Regions from separate parts of the Homo sapiens genome. Here all the other regions are linked to region 3. The links are contacts of gene promoters, found by promoter capture Hi-C in blood cells and fetal thymus (Javierre and others, 2016). All regions are on one chromosome and are shown on one strand. Each heading gives the region's core, a stretch centred on a gene start or on the middle of the fragment in contact. The rest is flanking DNA. Distances are from core to core; before and after follow the strand shown. Region 1 holds the start of GALNT12 (polypeptide N-acetylgalactosaminyltransferase 12). Region 2 holds the start of ZNF367 (zinc finger protein 367). Region 3 holds the start of TSTD2 (thiosulfate sulfurtransferase like domain containing 2). Region 4 holds the start of HABP4 (hyaluronan binding protein 4).

Region 1 (3,985 bases), core at 169-2,668, 1.2 Mb after region 3:
CCAGTAGCCAAAGGCTGTATGAAGACAACAGCAAGTCAGATTCTACCTCTACCTGAGCCGCCAAGTTCAAGGTCCTCTCCCCACCCTGTGTCTCAGACCCCGCATTTATCAATGAGATAATTGGACCAGATTTGTGCTTTTTAAACTTTCTGGGCTTCTGGTCTCCTTGAGAATATTTGATAAAAAGCTTTGGACCAACTTCCCATGGTAAAACAAACAACAACAAATAGAGCTTACACTCTATCCTTCTACAGGGGATACAGAATGATTCTTTTCCCTGAGCTAGACACCAGCAGAGGGAGTTCCAGATTAATTTAAGATATGATTTGAAATCTCTGCTATCACTTTTACATTCAGATATCTGTGTAGACATTACTTCATCAGAGAAGCTTTCCAAAACCCCCAAACTAGATCAAGTTCTACTATTCTAAGCCCTTTTAGCGCCCTGTAATTCTTCTTCAAAATACTTAACACAATTCTAATTATCTTTTTAATATTTGTCTACTCCATTAGACTTACTTCGTCCCTGGCAGCTCAAGGCTCCCACAGCAGTGATCTCATGAACAGGGCGGCAGCTTCATGGCCTTTTTTGGTTGTTGTTTAATAGAAACAGGATCTCGCTTTGTCATCCAGGCTGCAGCGCAGTGGCGCATAGTTCACGGTAACCTCCAATTCCTGGGCTCACACAATCCTCCTGCTTCAGCATCCTGAGTAGCTGGCACTATAGGCACGTGCCACCATGCATGGCTAATTCTGAAATTTTTCTGTAGAGATGGGAGTCTTGCTATGTTGACCAGTCTCGTTTTAAGCTCCTGGCTTCAAGTGATCCTCCTATCTCGGCCTGGGATTACAGGTGTGAACTATCATGTACAGCCTTCATGGCCTTTTGCTCCTAGCCTCAGAGGTCACAGAGCTATCACGAGGCGAGCCAGGCGAGGGTTTGCTATTCAAGGACTCCAAAGAGTATGGCAGAGGCTGGGCCTGCAGAAGTCAGTGGGGCAGCGTGGTGTCTGTTGATCTCATCGCACCTCCATCTCCTCATCTGTAAAAGGGAGCTCGTAATCCTAGTTGATGGTTGTTTTATTGGACTGTGTAAAGATCAGATGAGATAATGGCAGTAGAATTCATAACACCCTGCAGGGTGTATTCAGCCAACACTTAGCGCCTACAATATGCCAGGCGCTAAGGGTTTTACCACCACTATCTCTTTAATAATGCACCATAGCCCAAGAAGGAAGATGCAAGTCTCAGCCAGCCCACTTGAAGACCCTGCCGAAATGAGCCACCCCGGGGGCTGCGCTTGGGCTGGCGCGGGGCTGGACGGAAAGGGGGCGGCGCGCAGGTGGGGCGGGCCGGGGGCGGGGCGGCACGGCGGTTCCGGGATCCGGGTCCTGGCCTCCACCGCCGCCTTGGGGCGCGCAGATCGCTGGCTGCAGTTGGCGGGCGCATGTGGGGGCGCACGGCGCGGCGGCGCTGCCCGCGGGAACTGCGGCGCGGCCGGGAGGCGCTGTTGGTGCTCCTGGCGCTACTGGCGTTGGCCGGGCTGGGCTCGGTGCTGCGGGCGCAGCGTGGGGCCGGGGCCGGGGCTGCCGAGCCGGGACCCCCGCGCACCCCGCGCCCCGGGCGGCGCGAGCCGGTCATGCCGCGGCCGCCGGTGCCGGCGAACGCGCTGGGCGCGCGGGGCGAGGCGGTGCGGCTGCAGCTGCAGGGCGAGGAGCTGCGGCTGCAGGAGGAGAGCGTGCGGCTGCACCAGATTAACATCTACCTCAGCGACCGCATCTCACTGCACCGCCGCCTGCCCGAGCGCTGGAACCCGCTGTGAGTGCACAGCTCTGGGGAGGAAGCCCGCCCTCAGAGCCCCGGGCCTCAGTTTCTCCATCAGAGCAGTGGCAGGGCGGGGAGCTGGGGTCTCCAGGATGGCGCGTCTTATTGAGTCTTTCTCCGAAGACGATAGTGTAAGAGCTCACATGGGGGCGGGGAGGCAAGAAAGTAAAAAAGACGAAAGTAGAAAAAAAATTACCAGAAATTGGCAAGTCTGTTAGTGATCTCTTAGCTCCCTTCTCCTTGAGAAGTTATCATCTCCCTGAAAAGGTGAGGGTCAGGGCTAAGCAGAAGGGTTTAAGGCGAGGACCCCCCAGCACCCAAAGGACAACCCCGCTCTGCCCGCCTCGCAGTGCCTCCGCGAAACTGACAACTCCTCCGGGCGGTGACCGGCTCCATTCATTCTCTGTGTGTGCCAGGGCCTAAGGGACAAACAAGATGCGAGGGAGCGCCCCACAGGTGAAGCGAAAGATGGCTGTAAGGCCCCCTCAGCGCTAGAAAGCCTCCTTGTGCTCTCCCTGGGCATTGGATTTCTGAGCTTTGGGTGGAGGAAGGCGGGAAGGGGCACGGGGTGGGAAGGGCTCCTTCTGGCCGTGATCCACCCCAGCTCACTCCTGTGGGTGGTGCTGGACTGGAGCCAGCGTGGTCAGAGGCCTAGTTCCTGTTGGAGCTACTGGCTGGGCAGGTTGCGCCCCTGCCTAGGTGGGGATCCAGGGCACACGCTGGCAGCAGGAGGAAGGACAGGTGGCTGCTGCCACCTTTGCCGCTGGGCCTCCCGGGCTCTCACTTTTTCTTCGAAGTGTCAGGGATCTTCCAAGTCCTTTTTTGAGCCCCTTCCTTACAGACTTTGAGGAAAAGAGGACTCAGAGAGGGGGTTCCCATTGGAGCTGGTGGTGGCAGCCTGCCGTGTGCACCAGGCACCTGCCACTCCTCTCCCCTTCAAGCCATTCCTGCTTTACAGGTGTGGAAATAGGTTCGGAAAGGATAGGTGACCCACCCAAGGCCCCTCAGCTGGAATGTGGTAGGACTGGTCTGGAGGGACTATGGCCCTTCTGGCCCACTTGGCACCATGCTGATCTCAGGATTTTAGGGGCCTGCTCCATGGTACCTTGGCCAGAGAGACCATGAATGATGGAATGAGGATGCCCCACCTCTGCCCCACTGTTTCCACTGTCTTCCCTGTTTTGGGGATCTCCTCATGCCTAGCCTCATGCTTCTGCCTGAGGCATTTTTCACTGTTAGTCTTTTTGAATAAAACTTTGTTGGGATTGATAGTAGTTCCTCCACTCACCAGCCTAACGCATGTTTAGCTCCTCGAAACCCCGAGGGTGCCCGCTGAGGCAAGGTGGAGGGGAAGCTTTCAGGTTATACCCAGCTTCAGATTAAATCCAGCCCAGGGGAGATAAAATCCTGGTTCTTTTGCTCGTCACTTCTGTGATCTCTGGCAAGCTGCTTAGCCTCTCAGAGCCTTGGTTTCCCTTCGTTTGCGAAATAGGAAACTCATAAAAGTGAGTCTCCATGCATTCTACATAAAAGTGAGTGGAAAGAACACAACTTAGGAATTAATAAAGCATCAATACCTGGGAGCACACTGTGTGCTTAAATCTTAGTTTTTTCACCTTTCCCTGTTGCCAAGAATGTACTCAAGAGGTTGCTTTTGAGAGTCATCCAGGGATTGGTTGTAGTTTTTCTTTCCTGGATCCAACTTCCTTTATTGTCGCAGGTTGTGAATATCTCTTTGAAACACTGTGGACAATCTGTGGGGCTTATGGTAACCTGTCTCCATGGTGACGCAGCTGCCCTGTGTCCTCTCAGGATTTGCTTGTAGATCCTGCTGTTGCATTGACCCTGGAAGTTAAGCCAAACCCAGCATGATAAGGAGTGTGAATGCCTCCTGCTTCTAATTCCTGCAGCAAGGCCTGTTGGGTTATTCTTACCCAGCCAGAGAGAAAGGTGAGCCTGAGCTGTGTGGGTCTCTGTTGGGCCAGGCTTTGAGATGTAACTTCAGAGTGGTCAGTAGGGTCAGGGTATTTTGTGGCATCTCACTTTTATTACAGTTCATCCAGGAGCTAATCAGGGTCTTGAGATTTTGCCTGAGAAACCTGAATGGCAGATCATAAGTTCACAGTGTGGGTATGGGGTTCTCTGCGAGTCTAATAAACAG
Region 2 (4,099 bases), core at 733-3,232, 1.2 Mb before region 3:
GGTTCTGTTCTTTCAAATGTTTACTGAGGTGCAGTTTCAAGAGCTGAAGTGTATAAAAACCTATAGTTTTATAACCTTATAATTATTTAATAATAATGCCACATAAAATATATCAATTTCCTCAAAACCCAAACAATGTAGTTTCAACATCCTTGTGACTGCATGTAAAATGATCAAACTCGTTTCAACTTATACATTATGTGCTGATACAGATGCAGTTATCCACTATGTGATTTACTTGTTATCTCTTGCAAATTGCTTATCTTATACAGCCACTTAACAAATGGAACCTGGATATTACCCTTCTGTTAGCACCATTCATTCATTACACAAATATTTTTTGAGCACCTTTATTGAGCATTTACAGAATGTAAGGTAGTAAAGTCATATAGTCTTCTAGATAGAAATACTCCTGGCTCACCTGGAGCTTACAGTCTACAGAGTTCAGTATAAGTCAGCAGAAAGTCACCCCAAACACATGCAGGACTAAAAGCCACAAAACCTCGACCTAGTCCCCGCTCTTCCACTACTGAGCTGTGCCATCGTGGGAAGGTCGCCTCACTAATCACTGTAAGCCCCAGCTGCCTGATCTGTAAAATAGGTTTGAACCAGTGGTAACGACCTTCCCAGCTTTAAGCAGTCGGAGACTGCAAGCAATTTTAGCGTCCCATTCCACTATGTGCTCTCAACACCTAGCAAGTAGTATGCTGGATAAATGAAAGGCAGCGAAGGCACAACTTCAGCCGCAGAACAGGCCCAGAAGTCCTTTCTTGCTCTTCGGCTGTCTCTGCAGGGCATCTTTTAACAGGGCGAGGGCGATCTGCAGTAATGGAGCAAACACTGTGCGCTCCCTGCCCTCTCGCAGTCGGTGGAACAACTCAAGGCCCTCATCCCTCTCGTTTCCTCTCGGAACTGAGGACTCGGCAGCCCGCCGGGAGGATGTCAGTGGCCGTTGACCCGGCCTCCCCAGCGACCCCGGGCCGCGCTCCCGCCCACTGCACCTGCCGCAAGGACGGTCTCCCGCGCCGCTCCCGCCTGTCACGTGACAGGCCCCCCCCGACTGGGGCCGGTTTTTGGCGCGCGGCAGTGACGTCAGCATCCTGTCAGCCGCAGCCCCCGCCGTAGCCGGATCGACCTCGCGTTTTCAACTCCGCCCCGCCCGCCGCACCGTTAACGGGCCCCGGCTGCCCCACGTCCCGCCCGCCCGCCCGCCCGCGCCGCTCACCTTGAGGTGGCCGCTGTCTGGGCTGCTCGCTTCCTCCTCGTCCTCACCTCCCGAGGCGGCGGCGGAGGCCGAGGCGGCGGGCGGGGGCGCGCCCCGGCCACGAAGCCCCGAGTGCTCGGCGGCTGCGGCTGCAGGCAGGGCGGCCGAGGCGGCGGCCCCCGCGGCCCCAGGGCTGAGCGTCACGTTGTGTGCGTTCTCGCCCCAGCGCCACGGGTACACCATGAAGTCGCTGAAGCCGGGGCTGGTGGGGATGAGCGGCGGCGGCGGCTCCGGCTCCCCTCCACCGCCGCACGTTGGCTTGATCGGGGTCGTCCTGATGACCGACACCAGCACCCGCTTCGGGGAGTCGTGGCAGAAGATGACGGGCGGCGGCGGCGGCGGCGGGTTCTCCGCCATGGGCGCCTCGAAGCCCCGGATCATCGCCCGGCCCGACCCCCAGCTCCGGCGGCCCCGGGCCGCACTCCTGAGCACCGCTCTGCCCCTCACTCGCTCTGCTCCGAGTCGCAGGCTCAGTCCTGCCGGCTCATGGCAGACTGACGTTTCCCGGAATCCTGCGCAGCAGCCACCTAACTAGTTGAGCAGACGGCACCGGCGGGCAGGGCTGGACCCCAGCCCCAGGTCAAGCGCGCCCTCCGCTCTTTGTACTCCGCAGCGCAGGCTGCAGGGGTGGGAAGCAGCGGGCGGCCCGGCCCTTGCGGTGACAGGAAAGCAGGACGCGCGGCGCTGAGCCCCCAAAAATAACAACCTGCCGCCGCGGTGCCTGCCCCGGCTTTTCCCGCGTTACATTTCGCGCCTGGGCGGAACCAGTCACCGCGAGGCCGCTGCCCGCTGGCCGCACCGGCGAGTGACAGGCGGCGCGAGCCAATGGCCAGGCCTGGCCTTCTTTCCAGCCGGCCGGGGCGGGGCCGGGTCTGCGCGCGGGTCCTTCCCACCTCGCCATTGGCCGCCGCTCTTATATTTTTTTCTGTCTGGAGGGCCAACAGCGTTCGAAACTCCAGTGGAGCGCGCGGCGTCTCCACTCGCCCGGACACACCCGCCTGCCGCCCCGCCCCGCCGTCCCTCCGCGTGGTTAGTCCGGGCCAGGGAGACAAGGGCGGCGGGGAGGGCGGCAAGAGGGCGGCTGATTGGACAGCGGCGGGGCGGGGTCGGGGGGGGTGGTGATCGTTGGGCGGTGGAGGCGCGCGCCCCGCTCGGCCCCGCCCGCCGTTGGTTGTTGGGCCGCGGTTCCCGCGCGCAGGGAGTTTAAAGGGCTGGGGCCCCGCCGCCCGCCCCGCCCTCGGTCCCACCACCCGCCCGGCGGCTGGAGTCTCTGCTGCCCGAGGTCCTGATGGGCACCCGGCGTGCCTGGTTTCTTAATCGAGTTCCGTCTGCTCAGCTGTTGCACGCTCTGTGAACCAGCCCTGTCAGCACCGCCCTGACTCCTCCGGGCCGATTGTGGGCCTCCGGTTCCCCATCTGTGGAAAGGGGAGAGTCCAGGAAGTGGCCTCCGAAGTCCCTGCGGGCCGCTCGCGGCGCGGAGGCCACAAGAGCCGGGCGAGAGTAGACACTCTCACCCTGGACTGATGCCCCGAAGTTGCCTCGGGGATCTCCCCACCCCGGCGACCCCGCTCTACCGAGCGGCTGCTCCGGGAGTCGGGGCAGCGCCCTACTTTGCTCGGCCCCCACCTGCCCCGGCCGCGTCCTAGTACTCGCGCCGGGACGCGCGGAGCCCCAACGTCCTCTGCCCGCCCCGCCCCAGCCCCGCCTGGCTGGCGCCGACCGCGGCCCGGGTGGGGCTCGCAGGCTGCAGAGGAAGGACCGGGCGGAGGGGTTGCCCGGCTTCCTACCCGCTAGATGTGGCCTGGGGAGCTGCGTTTTGTTCTTGGGAATACAGATTCCCAGGCACCGCCTGATTCGCGGTAGGGGCTCAATAAATATTTGCTGAATGGATGAATGAATATCCATTGGTTAAGGGTTAGGATTGGTAATTAAGTTAGAACACGACTGTATAATAACAGATAACTAAGCTGAATAGCTTTTCTCTCTGTGAAAGACACACAAATGCACAGCTATGACTAAATTAAGCCACAATTGTTTAAAAACAAATAAAGGAAACTGTACTGATATGAACAATTTCAAAAATGTATTTTTATTTTAAAAGGCAAAACAAGCAATAGTGTGATTTTATGTAAAATTGTTAAAGTGGGGAAAATACGTTTTTACTTTTAGACGTACATAAAATATCTGGCAAGATGCAAAAGAAACATGGATCATGGAGGGAAATTGTGTGGCTGGGAACAGAAGTGAAAAGATTTCAAGAAATACAATATATAACTATCTTTTGAACTTTGAACCAAGTGAAAGTATCCTTTTAAGAAATGAAACAGTATATAGCCTCCATTTTCTGGAGGCCTACTACAAAAATAGCATATATGTACTGATACACAATAATACATATGGATGTTTCACAGTTCACTCAACAATTGGGTAAGGAAGATATTTTTCCCATTTTATAAATGAGAAAAGTTGAGGCTTGTACAAGATTACATAATAAATCCTTTGGAAGAATAAGTCTGTACTGCCTGTGGATTATATTCAGTGTCTGCTGAGCAAAAGGAGGAAAAGGCTGAAAAATGGGACTCACACATTTCTCGGTCCCGTTTCTCATATTCCAAAACTTTCAGGGTTTAGGGGCAAATTTCATATTGTAATGGTTGATCTAGAAAGTTGAAAGTTCAGCCCTACTTTCACCTAATTTAGTAAACATACATTTTGTTTTTACAGTTTAATACCAAAAAACATATTTTTCTGAATCAGTTGGAAGGGAAATGTTATCCATCTGTTTTATACTTGACAAGTAGTGTAAAGAAAAAAGTGATCTATCCATCATGGACA
Region 3 (4,304 bases), core at 1,195-3,694:
CTGTGTGTGAATTTTACACTGTGTGTGAAGCCAGCTAGCTTCAGCTTCAAATACAACTGTTCAAAACCAAACTTTCGTCTTCCCCAGTCTTCCTTATCTGAGTAAAAGACAATTTTATTCTTCCTGTTATTCAGACAAAAAAAACTTTGGGATGATTCCTGACTCCTTATTTTCTCACACTATCATTCACTTGTTCAGAAAATACTTTTTTTTGAGACGGTTTTCGTTCTGTCACCAGGCTGGAGTGCAGTGGGGTGATCTCGGCTCACTGCAACCTCCGCCTCCCAGGTTCAAGCGATTCTCCTGCCTCAGCCTCCCGAGTAGCTGGGAGTACAGCTGCACGCCACCACACGCAGCTAATTTTTGTATTTTTTTTTTTAGTAGAGACAGGGTTTCACCATGTTGGCCAGGATGGTCTCAATCTCCAGACCTTGTGATCCACCCACCTCGGACTCCCAAAGTGCTAGGATTACAGGGGTGAGCCACCATGCCTGGCCAGCTTTGCTTTTGAAGTACAATCCAATCAGATCACTTTGCACCACCATCTTTACTACCACCCTAGTTCAAGCTACTATCATTTGCAGCTAGAATTACTGCAAAAGCTGAACTATCTTCCTCCTTTGGGAGCATGAGAAGTAACTATTAAAAAAATAAGTCAGACTGGCCCTGCACAGAGGCTCATGCCTGTAATCTCAGCACTTTGGGAGGCCAGGAGTTCAAGACCAGCCTGGCCAACATGGCGAAACCCCATCTCTACTAAAAATATACAAATTAGCCTGGTGTGGTGGCGCATGTCTGTAATTGCCGCTACTTGGGTGGCTAAGGCACAAGAATTGCCTGAACCTAAAAGGCAGAGGTTACAACGAGCCAAGACCGTGCCACTGCACTCCAGCCTGGGCAACAGAGCGAGACCCTGTCTCAAAAAAAAAAAATCATACTCCAATGACTTCTCAATTCACTTGGATAATGTCCAAAGTCCTCACAGAGCACCTTCCCCCTACCTCTCTGATCTCATCTACCACTCTCCCGTTGCTCACTACCTATGATGGCACTATTTGTGGGTATTCCTGAATGGGTCGTTAGAATATATCAGCGCCAAGAGAGCAGGGGTTTTCCTTTGTTCACCTCTACATCCTCAGCATTCAGAACTCTGCCTGGCACCTAGGAGGTGCTAAATGCTAATAAATATAATATTCGTTGAATGAAATAAAACAGTGATTGGGTAACCAAAGAAGGCCTCACTAAGGACCTGACATTTGAGCTGAGACCTAAGTGACCAAGAGCCAGCCACGCAGATTTAGAACCAGAGACCTTCAGGTAAAGGAAATAGTATAAGTTCCTAAAATAAGAACAAGCTTGACTTATTGTAAGAACAGAAAGAGTGGTTGGAGTACAGTGAGGAGAAGTAGAACCCCACAGGCCATGGCATGGAGTGTGCAATGGAAAGTCGTAGGAGACTTTTTTTTTTTGACACGGTCTCACTTTGTTGCCCAGGCTGGAGTGCAGTGTGCGATCACCGCTCACTGCATTCTCGACCTCCTGGGCTCAAGGGATCCTCCCACCTCGGCCCCCAACCCTCCCCTCGAGTAACTGGGACTACAGGCGCCAAACACTAGGCTCAGCTAATTTTTTTTTTTTTCCTGTAAAGACGGTGTTCGCCTTGTTGCCCAGGTGGGTCTTGAACTCCTAGGCTCAAGCGGATCCGCCCGCGTCGGCCTCCCATAAGTGTTAGGATTACAAGCGTTAGCTACCCCGCCCGGCCGTCATAGGAGACTTTTAAACAAAGCAGTAACACGATCTGATTCTGGATTTGTGTTGAAAGCAGAGCAGGCAGGGTTTACAGATAATTGTTATGTAAAAAGAGGGAAAAGAGCTAAGAAAGACTCTAAATTTTTGGATTAAGCGGCCGACGGATGACGTCATTTACTGAAATGGGTAAGACCGAAGGAGAATTAGGCCGGGAGAGTGAAATTTCAGATGGCCATGGACAAAGCAGATAAGCCAGTATGGTGCTCATAAAGACATCAGGGGAGGGGACGCTCACACACAGGCATATAGGTACCCAATAACCCTTGAAAACAGATTACTAAAACAATCATTTGTTCCTTCCTAAGCAAACAACTTAAGGAAAATGACGGCCAGCCGGCAAGCCCGGAGCCGCACGCTCGCGTCAGGGCCGGCCTTTCCATACCAAGGGGCGGCACGTGCGGCACCGCCTCCCGCCCAGGCCCCACCCCGCATGCCGAGCTTGGCCCAACCTCTCCTCCCACTTTTCCCAAGGCGGCAAAAGCCGGAAAGTGGGAGTAGATGAGCACATACCCGCCAGTCCTGATCCTTTCTAAGGTCTCTCTTCCCTGCACTGTCTCCGCCTAGCAATTGTCACTGCTCACCGCCCTCGAGCCTATTCCCCCGCCGCGTATTTGGGTAGAAAAGCTCGCTCGTGACGTCACCAAGCTCCGGAAGTCTCCTGGCGTCGGCGCAAGGGCCGCCGGGAAAACCATTGAGAGGCCACCGGGAAACCATTGAGAAGCCCCGGAGGACCGGCCTGAGCGGAGGCGGAGACTAGAGCGGCCGCCGGCACGACCCGCCTTCAGGCGTACGACGACCGCGGCCCGGGGGCTCTGAGTGGCCAAAGCGGCGGCACTTTCTGCGTGGCCCCGGAAGGACATAGAGCGGAAGGCGGGAGAAAGAAGTAGCCGGCAGGCGGAGGCAGCCCGAGGGGGCGGTTGCATGTGTGCCAGACGTTCGTAGCCCACTGAGCTTCCTCACGCCGGCTGTCGCAGCGCCTAGCCCCACCCGGCGGCCTCTCCTGCGCTTCCGGGGCCGTGGCGAGCTAGTGCGCCTGCGTGCCGGCCCATCCGCGCGCCTTGCAGCTGTCCTTGCGTCGGCCAGCGGCCAGACAGTTCCTGCAGCGCTTACCGCCTGGCCTCTCGGTTCCGCGGCGCACCGGAGGGCAGCATGTCGCGGCGGCGGCACAGCGACGAGAACGACGGTGAGTGCCTGCGGCCCGGCCACGGAGGCCGCTCCCGGTTGGGAGCCGAGGCTCGGCGTCTTTGGGTGTCCACGGAAGAGACTGGAAGCTCTTCTCCCCGGGAACGTGCGGGGAGCCGCGGAGGGAAAGAGGAGAATATGGTGGCGGTGTGGTCGGGCGGCTTCTAGAAAGCGACTTCTCCCCCGCCCCAGTTCTTTGAGTCAAGGGCCGATCCTCGGGAAAGAAGGCCTGGTGAACCCCATGGGTAGACCCTTGGTCTCTAAGGATGCTTCAGAATTTCGTCCGTAAAACCACGGAGCAGGGAAGCACACCTGTGTCTGTGCTGCCGCCTCTTAGGGACCCACTGGTCCTAGTGTCTCGTTTTAACCTTCAAAGCTGCACCTGAAAAGGGCTCGGAAGAATTCACTGAAGGAAAGGACTGAGAGATCTCATGAGTTGCAGTCTGAACTCTGTTCCGGTAGTGGTTATCCGTTGATTTCACTTCTTTCAAGCTGCAGGGAAAGAATATTGTCTTACCTGCGCCCAAGAGGTCCCTAATAAACAGACACAGGTTACTGCAGATTTTGAACTGGCCGTAAGCGCATTTCCCTTGTGTGAGAGAGAGTGCTAGAAAACTAACTTCAGGCCTCTGAGAGAGTTAGAACAGGGGTTCCCATCTCCGTTTGGATGATTGTGCTCGTGGAGATCAGTGTTGCCTTCATAAAGATGGAATAATTCTAGTTTTAACAACAACAAAAAAAAGATGCTTATATTACACATAAGCCTTACAATCGGTCAAAAACACAAATCCACACACCAAAAAAGTAAAACTTAGAGTAATTCTATTGTTAACATTTTAGTGTATTGTTTTTTGAAGAGAGTGTATAGTAGTGGTTAAGAGATGAGACTTTGGAACCAGAGGGTTTAGGTTCAAAGCCAGACCCTACCATTTACTTGGTGATCTTGTCCAGGTTATGAAATCTCCTTAAACTTTAGTCTGTAATACAGAAGTAATGATATTTATATCTTCTGGTTTTTGTGAAGGTTAAATGAGGTAATACACATCAGCAACAATGATGTTTTATCATTTGCCAACGCTTAAGAGGCGGTAAACGTTAGCAGATGCTGTCAATGTAAGAAAAAAACCCATAACAGACATTTTAAATTGAGTAAATTTTATCTACTAACGTTTGTCTCTCCTTGAGTGTTGTGGCAGTTGAGGTGGAGGCAGAATCGCATGCATTTAGTTTTAATAGTGAAACACCAGATTTCTACGAAGGAATGGCTTGAGAGGATATTCTAGTCCAGCTTTCTATCTGACACCTAAGGGTCT
Region 4 (4,168 bases), core at 1,513-4,012, 1.2 Mb before region 3:
TTCTGAATCCTGAAGCAACGAGAGTTGGTTCTCTTACAACCATTTGGGGCATTTGTGACTTGGAAATGAGGCGGCAGTGCTCACAGGGCATGCTTTAAGAACTTACAGTGGCTGGTTATGCTGTAAGGAAGATAAGAAGAAAACAGGGGAGCAGGCTAACTCCAGATGCCCAGTGGGAAGACGACAGGCCCTTCTCTCACATGATCATGATTCCTTGGTGTTGTGGTTTGGTGATGAGCAGTTTAAAGATACCAAAGATAACTTTAGCTTGAAGCAGTGCTTCTCAAAGTGTGGTCTCTGTTGCATGTAGTGATTCTGGTTCATTGAGATAAATTTACTATTTTTACTCTGGTTCATTAAGATAAATTTACTATTTTTACAAAAAATTTACTATTTTTACTAAATTTTACACAAAATTTACTATTTTTACAATTTTAAAGTGTACAACTCAGTGACATTTACTAAATTTACAATTTTGTGCAACCATCTCCACTATCTCGTTCCAGAACATTTCATCACCCCACAGGAAACTCCCATGCCCATTAAGCAGTTACTTTCCAACACTCCCAACCCCCACACCTGGTGACCACCAATCTGCTTTCTGTCTCTATAGATTCTGGACATTTCATATAAATGGAATCATACAACGTGTGGCCCTTTTTGTCCGTCTTTCACTTAGCACAATGTTTTCAAGTTTCATCCCTGTTGTAACAAGTATCAATACTTCCTTTTTGACCAAATAATATTTTTTGTACCACATTTTATTTATCCATTCATCGGGTGACATGTATATTATTTGTTTCTGTCTTTTGGCTATTGTGAATAGTGCTGCTATGAATACTCATGTACAAGTTTTGGTTTGAACACTTGCTTTTAATTCTTTTGGGTAGAAAGCGTAGGCATTAATCTTTGCTCACTCAAAAGGAGATGACCAAATATCTTAAATTCTTCAATCATTCAACAAATATTTACTGAAAACCTACTCTATAGCTGCTTAGAACGCCAAGCACTGGGAATACATACTGCAGTGAATAAGACAGGCATCATCCCTGTCCTCCTTGGGAATAACACAAAATTCAATAAGTGAGTAACACACAGACTTTACAGCATTTAGGATTAGGAATTCCTTTGCTATTAAGGAAAGTAAAAGCTGGTCACAGAGCACCTGGCAAGATGCTCTAACTGGATGCTTTCGGATGAAACAAGCAAACACAACTAAGCGCAATCACATCTGTCACCTTACATCATAAGCCTCAAGTAGGGAGGTTCCCAAGTGGGTCCAGTCGGCAGCTCAACCTCATCAAGGATCTAGCCTTTCTCTATCCTGCTCTGCCATCCTCATGGCCACGCTAAGGAACAGCCACCCGAGGCATCATGTCTTCTCATGGAACAAAGACCAGGGAACAGAAGGGGGGGAGATCCCTTCTCAATCCCTTGTTAGGTGCAAGAAAAACTTTCCCAGAATACTTCTCAGATCTGTTCTGCCCGATTTGCCCCACAGCCTATTCCTAAGCCAATTACTGGCAAGGAATTGGAATCAGGTGCAATGAATAATGTATGATTAATCAAGTTTGAGGCTGGAAGGGGCCCTCTTCCCCTGGGGAATATGATGCCTGAACAAAATACAGGCTCTGGAAAAATGTAAGAGGGAAAGAACGGCTGTAGGATAGGCAGCCAAGCGTGTCTCCACCGCTGCCTATGCAAAGATTTCCTGGAGGAAGTCCAGTCCGGCGTTCTCTAAGCTCCAGGCCTCAACTGAATATCTCAAAAGAAAACAAATATCCAAACCTCAACGTGTCCCAGACTGAATTAATGATTCCCGTTAAAGTAGTGTCTTCCAGTGGTAACTAATACTATCATTCAGATGCTGGAGCCAGGAAAATAAGAGTCACCGTATCTTCTTCTCCCTCATCACCACCTCTAGCGCATCACCAAGTCTTTGAATCCATCTACTCTCTTCGCCTCCACCGCCACCATCCTAATCCCAGTCACTATCAACTCTTCCCTGGAGCTTTGCAACAATCATGTTTGGCTTCCCAGCATCCATTTGTATTTCCCTCCAAACTATTAGTTCACAGTGCAGGTAGGGTGGCCTTTTCAAACCCAAATCTGCTCATGCTCAAAACTTGCTTCCCACTGCTCTTAGAATAGAGACCACTTTGAGCTTGAATAGGCTGTGCACATCCCACCTCAAGACTGCTGCACTTGCTGTTCCTCCTCCAACCCCTTGTCACCCCTCTCCCTCGGCTTAACTGTCATTTCCCAATTAGGTCAGATCCCTTTGCTGCAGCCCGTAGAGAGCTCTGCGCCTGTCCTTCAGGGCACTTTTTCTCCATCTACAGACTCAGATCTGTGACAACACGGAGCTAGTATTTCCTACAACATAATGCCTGGCACACGGTAAGTGCGCAATATGTAGCTGTTGCACGGCTAAATGTATACATAAGCTTCAAAGCAGAGTGGCCCATAGCAAATACGGTCGCAGTCCCGGGAGAAAGCACACACAGCCGAGACCCCACCGCTTCGTCGGCGCCGCCTGGACCAGCCAGTAGCTCCGCCCCTGGGCCCCGCCCCTCCCTGCTGAGCGAACGGGGCGGGGCCCAGAGGTCGCGTGACGTGACAGCAGCCGGTCGGTGATTGGGTCTCCAGGCGCGCCGTGTCGGAAAGGGGGCGCACCCGCGCGCGCTGACTGGCTGTCTGGCGCAGCGGGGCGGACGGCGGCGGCGCCGCGGGGGCGGGCGCCGGTAGGGGCCGGACAGGGTAGGGCCCGGAGGGCGGTGGCGGCGGAGCGGGCGGCATGGGTCCTGGCCGCCGGCTTCGCTGAGACGCGCTCGCGTGGGCTGCCCTCCCGGGCCCGCAGTGGTCGCGGCGGCATGAAGGGCGCTCTGGGGAGTCCCGTGGCTGCCGCTGGCGCCGCGATGCAGGAGAGTTTCGGCTGCGTGGTGGCCAACCGCTTCCATCAGCTGCTGGACGACGAGTCGGACCCGTTCGACATCCTGCGCGAGGCCGAGCGCCGGCGCCAGCAGCAGCTGCAGCGCAAGAGGCGCGACGAGGCGGCGGCGGCGGCCGGGGCCGGTCCCCGCGGCGGCAGGAGCCCAGCCGGGGCCTCGGGCCACAGAGCCGGCGCGGGCGGCCGGAGGGAGTCGCAGAAGGAGCGCAAGAGCCTCCCGGCGCCCGTCGCTCAGCGGCCCGATAGCCCCGGGGGCGGCCTGCAGGCGCCGGGTACGCGGGGACAGCGGGGTTAGCGGACCACGGCTCGGCCCGCTGTGAGACTGGGGTCCCGGGGGCCGGTTTCAGGAGGAGGGGCCCGGGAACAGTAGGGAGAGTTGAGGGTCCTGGTGGCCGCCGAAGGTAGGAGGAGAGGGGCAGGGGTCACACCCCTTCCAGCTCTCGCCAGCCTCGTGCGGGGCTCCGGGGGAAACGCTGGCTTGGGGTGGGATAGGGCCCTCGAACCCTGGCACTGAGGCTCTACGGCAAGTTGGACGAAGTTGAGGGAGGTTGTCTGGGTGGCGTGTGGGGGCGAACGGCTGAGGTCGCTACCCCGGGGCTCCCACATCCAGACCTGGCGGGGACCTTCATCTTCCAGCCCAGCCTCTGCAAGATTGAGGTCGGAGCCACCCGAGAGCGCGGTGGGGAGGAGGAGGGCGCCTGGTCCCGGGGCTGGGGGCCTCTGTGATGCCGGAGGCCTGGGCGACCGCGGGGCGGCCTGTGACGTCGGGGCCCGGGCGGGGGTCCCCGGCGCGGTCCGGCCTGGCGCCTTCGCCCCTTCTCCGTCCGGTAGCTTCCAGGAGGCAGCCGGCATCGTATTTCAGTACTTCGTGTGGTGTTGATGGGATGTGCAACTTATAAATAGCTCAAGGCTGCTTTAAGAAAAGCGTTTTTAACCTTTCCAGCAAGAATATTCGGAGTTCCCCACTCCCTATTTAGCAAGAAAAACCGGTGCGCAGCGTGGTGTCCTGCTGCCTGTGGACGGGGAGGGTGCTTCAGAGTTCATTCTCTCACCGAACTGCGTCAGTGGCAGAGCCAGCAACACTCCACCTGTGTTTCCTGTTTTCTTGAAATGAGGCAGCGGTCCCAAGGTTTGCAGAGTGTTAGGATTAAGATGTGTAGGTTGACCATTCCTGCCGACGTTTGCCAGTGTGTTCAACTTGGCTTTATTGGTTTGTTC

What was found. Contacts are between HindIII fragments. The CHiCAGO score rates a contact against its expected background, and 5 or more counts as called.
Region 1: a contact is called between the fragment with the promoter of GALNT12 here and the fragment with the promoter of TSTD2 in region 3, in 1 of 17 cell types (fetal thymus). The highest score is 5.9, in fetal thymus.
Region 2: a contact is called between the fragment with the promoter of ZNF367 here and the fragment with the promoter of TSTD2 in region 3, in 1 of 17 cell types (erythroblasts). The highest score is 7.4, in erythroblasts.
Region 4: the fragment with the promoter of HABP4 here is called in contact with the fragment with the promoter of TSTD2 in region 3 in 2 of 17 cell types (naive B cells and fetal thymus); the score reaches 7.5 in naive B cells.

Annotation. Positions count from the first base shown.
Region 1 is chr9:98,806,252-98,810,236 of GRCh38, forward strand. It overlaps GALNT12 (polypeptide N-acetylgalactosaminyltransferase 12), which reads left to right and starts at 1,419. Exons shown (of 10, transcript NM_024642.5): 1 at 1,419-1,818. The coding sequence starts at 1,448. It overlaps LOC124902229 (a long non-coding RNA gene), which reads right to left and starts at 1,329. Exons shown (of 2, transcript XR_007061689.1): 1 at 520-1,329. RefSeq lists silencers at 1,301-1,390, 1,491-1,560. The HindIII fragment of the contact is 2,789 bases long and covers 388-3,176 here.
Region 2 is chr9:96,416,388-96,420,486 of GRCh38, forward strand. ZNF367 (zinc finger protein 367) reads right to left here and starts at 1,983. Exons shown (of 5, transcript NM_153695.4): 1 at 1,226-1,983. The coding sequence starts at 1,645. RefSeq lists enhancers at 550-789, 2,264-2,797, 2,798-3,331, 3,848-4,099 and silencers at 1,150-1,389, 1,690-1,829, 1,940-2,599, 2,860-3,129. The HindIII fragment of the contact is 11,520 bases long and covers 1-4,099 here.
Region 3 is chr9:97,630,924-97,635,227 of GRCh38, forward strand. It overlaps TSTD2 (thiosulfate sulfurtransferase like domain containing 2), which reads right to left and starts at 2,445. Exons shown (of 10, transcript NM_139246.5): 1 at 2,320-2,445. NCBP1 (nuclear cap binding protein subunit 1) reads left to right here and starts at 2,898. Exons shown (of 23, transcript NM_002486.5): 1 at 2,898-2,992. The coding sequence starts at 2,959. RefSeq lists enhancers at 2,366-2,695, 2,464-2,758, 2,923-3,758, 3,316-3,395. The HindIII fragment of the contact is 4,009 bases long and covers 1,354-4,304 here.
Region 4 is chr9:96,447,407-96,451,574 of GRCh38, forward strand. HABP4 (hyaluronan binding protein 4) reads left to right here and starts at 2,763. Exons shown (of 8, transcript NM_014282.4): 1 at 2,763-3,222. The coding sequence starts at 2,874. RefSeq lists an enhancer at 2,181-2,260 and silencers at 2,541-3,080, 3,091-3,150, 3,231-3,280. The HindIII fragment of the contact is 2,057 bases long and covers 2,446-4,168 here.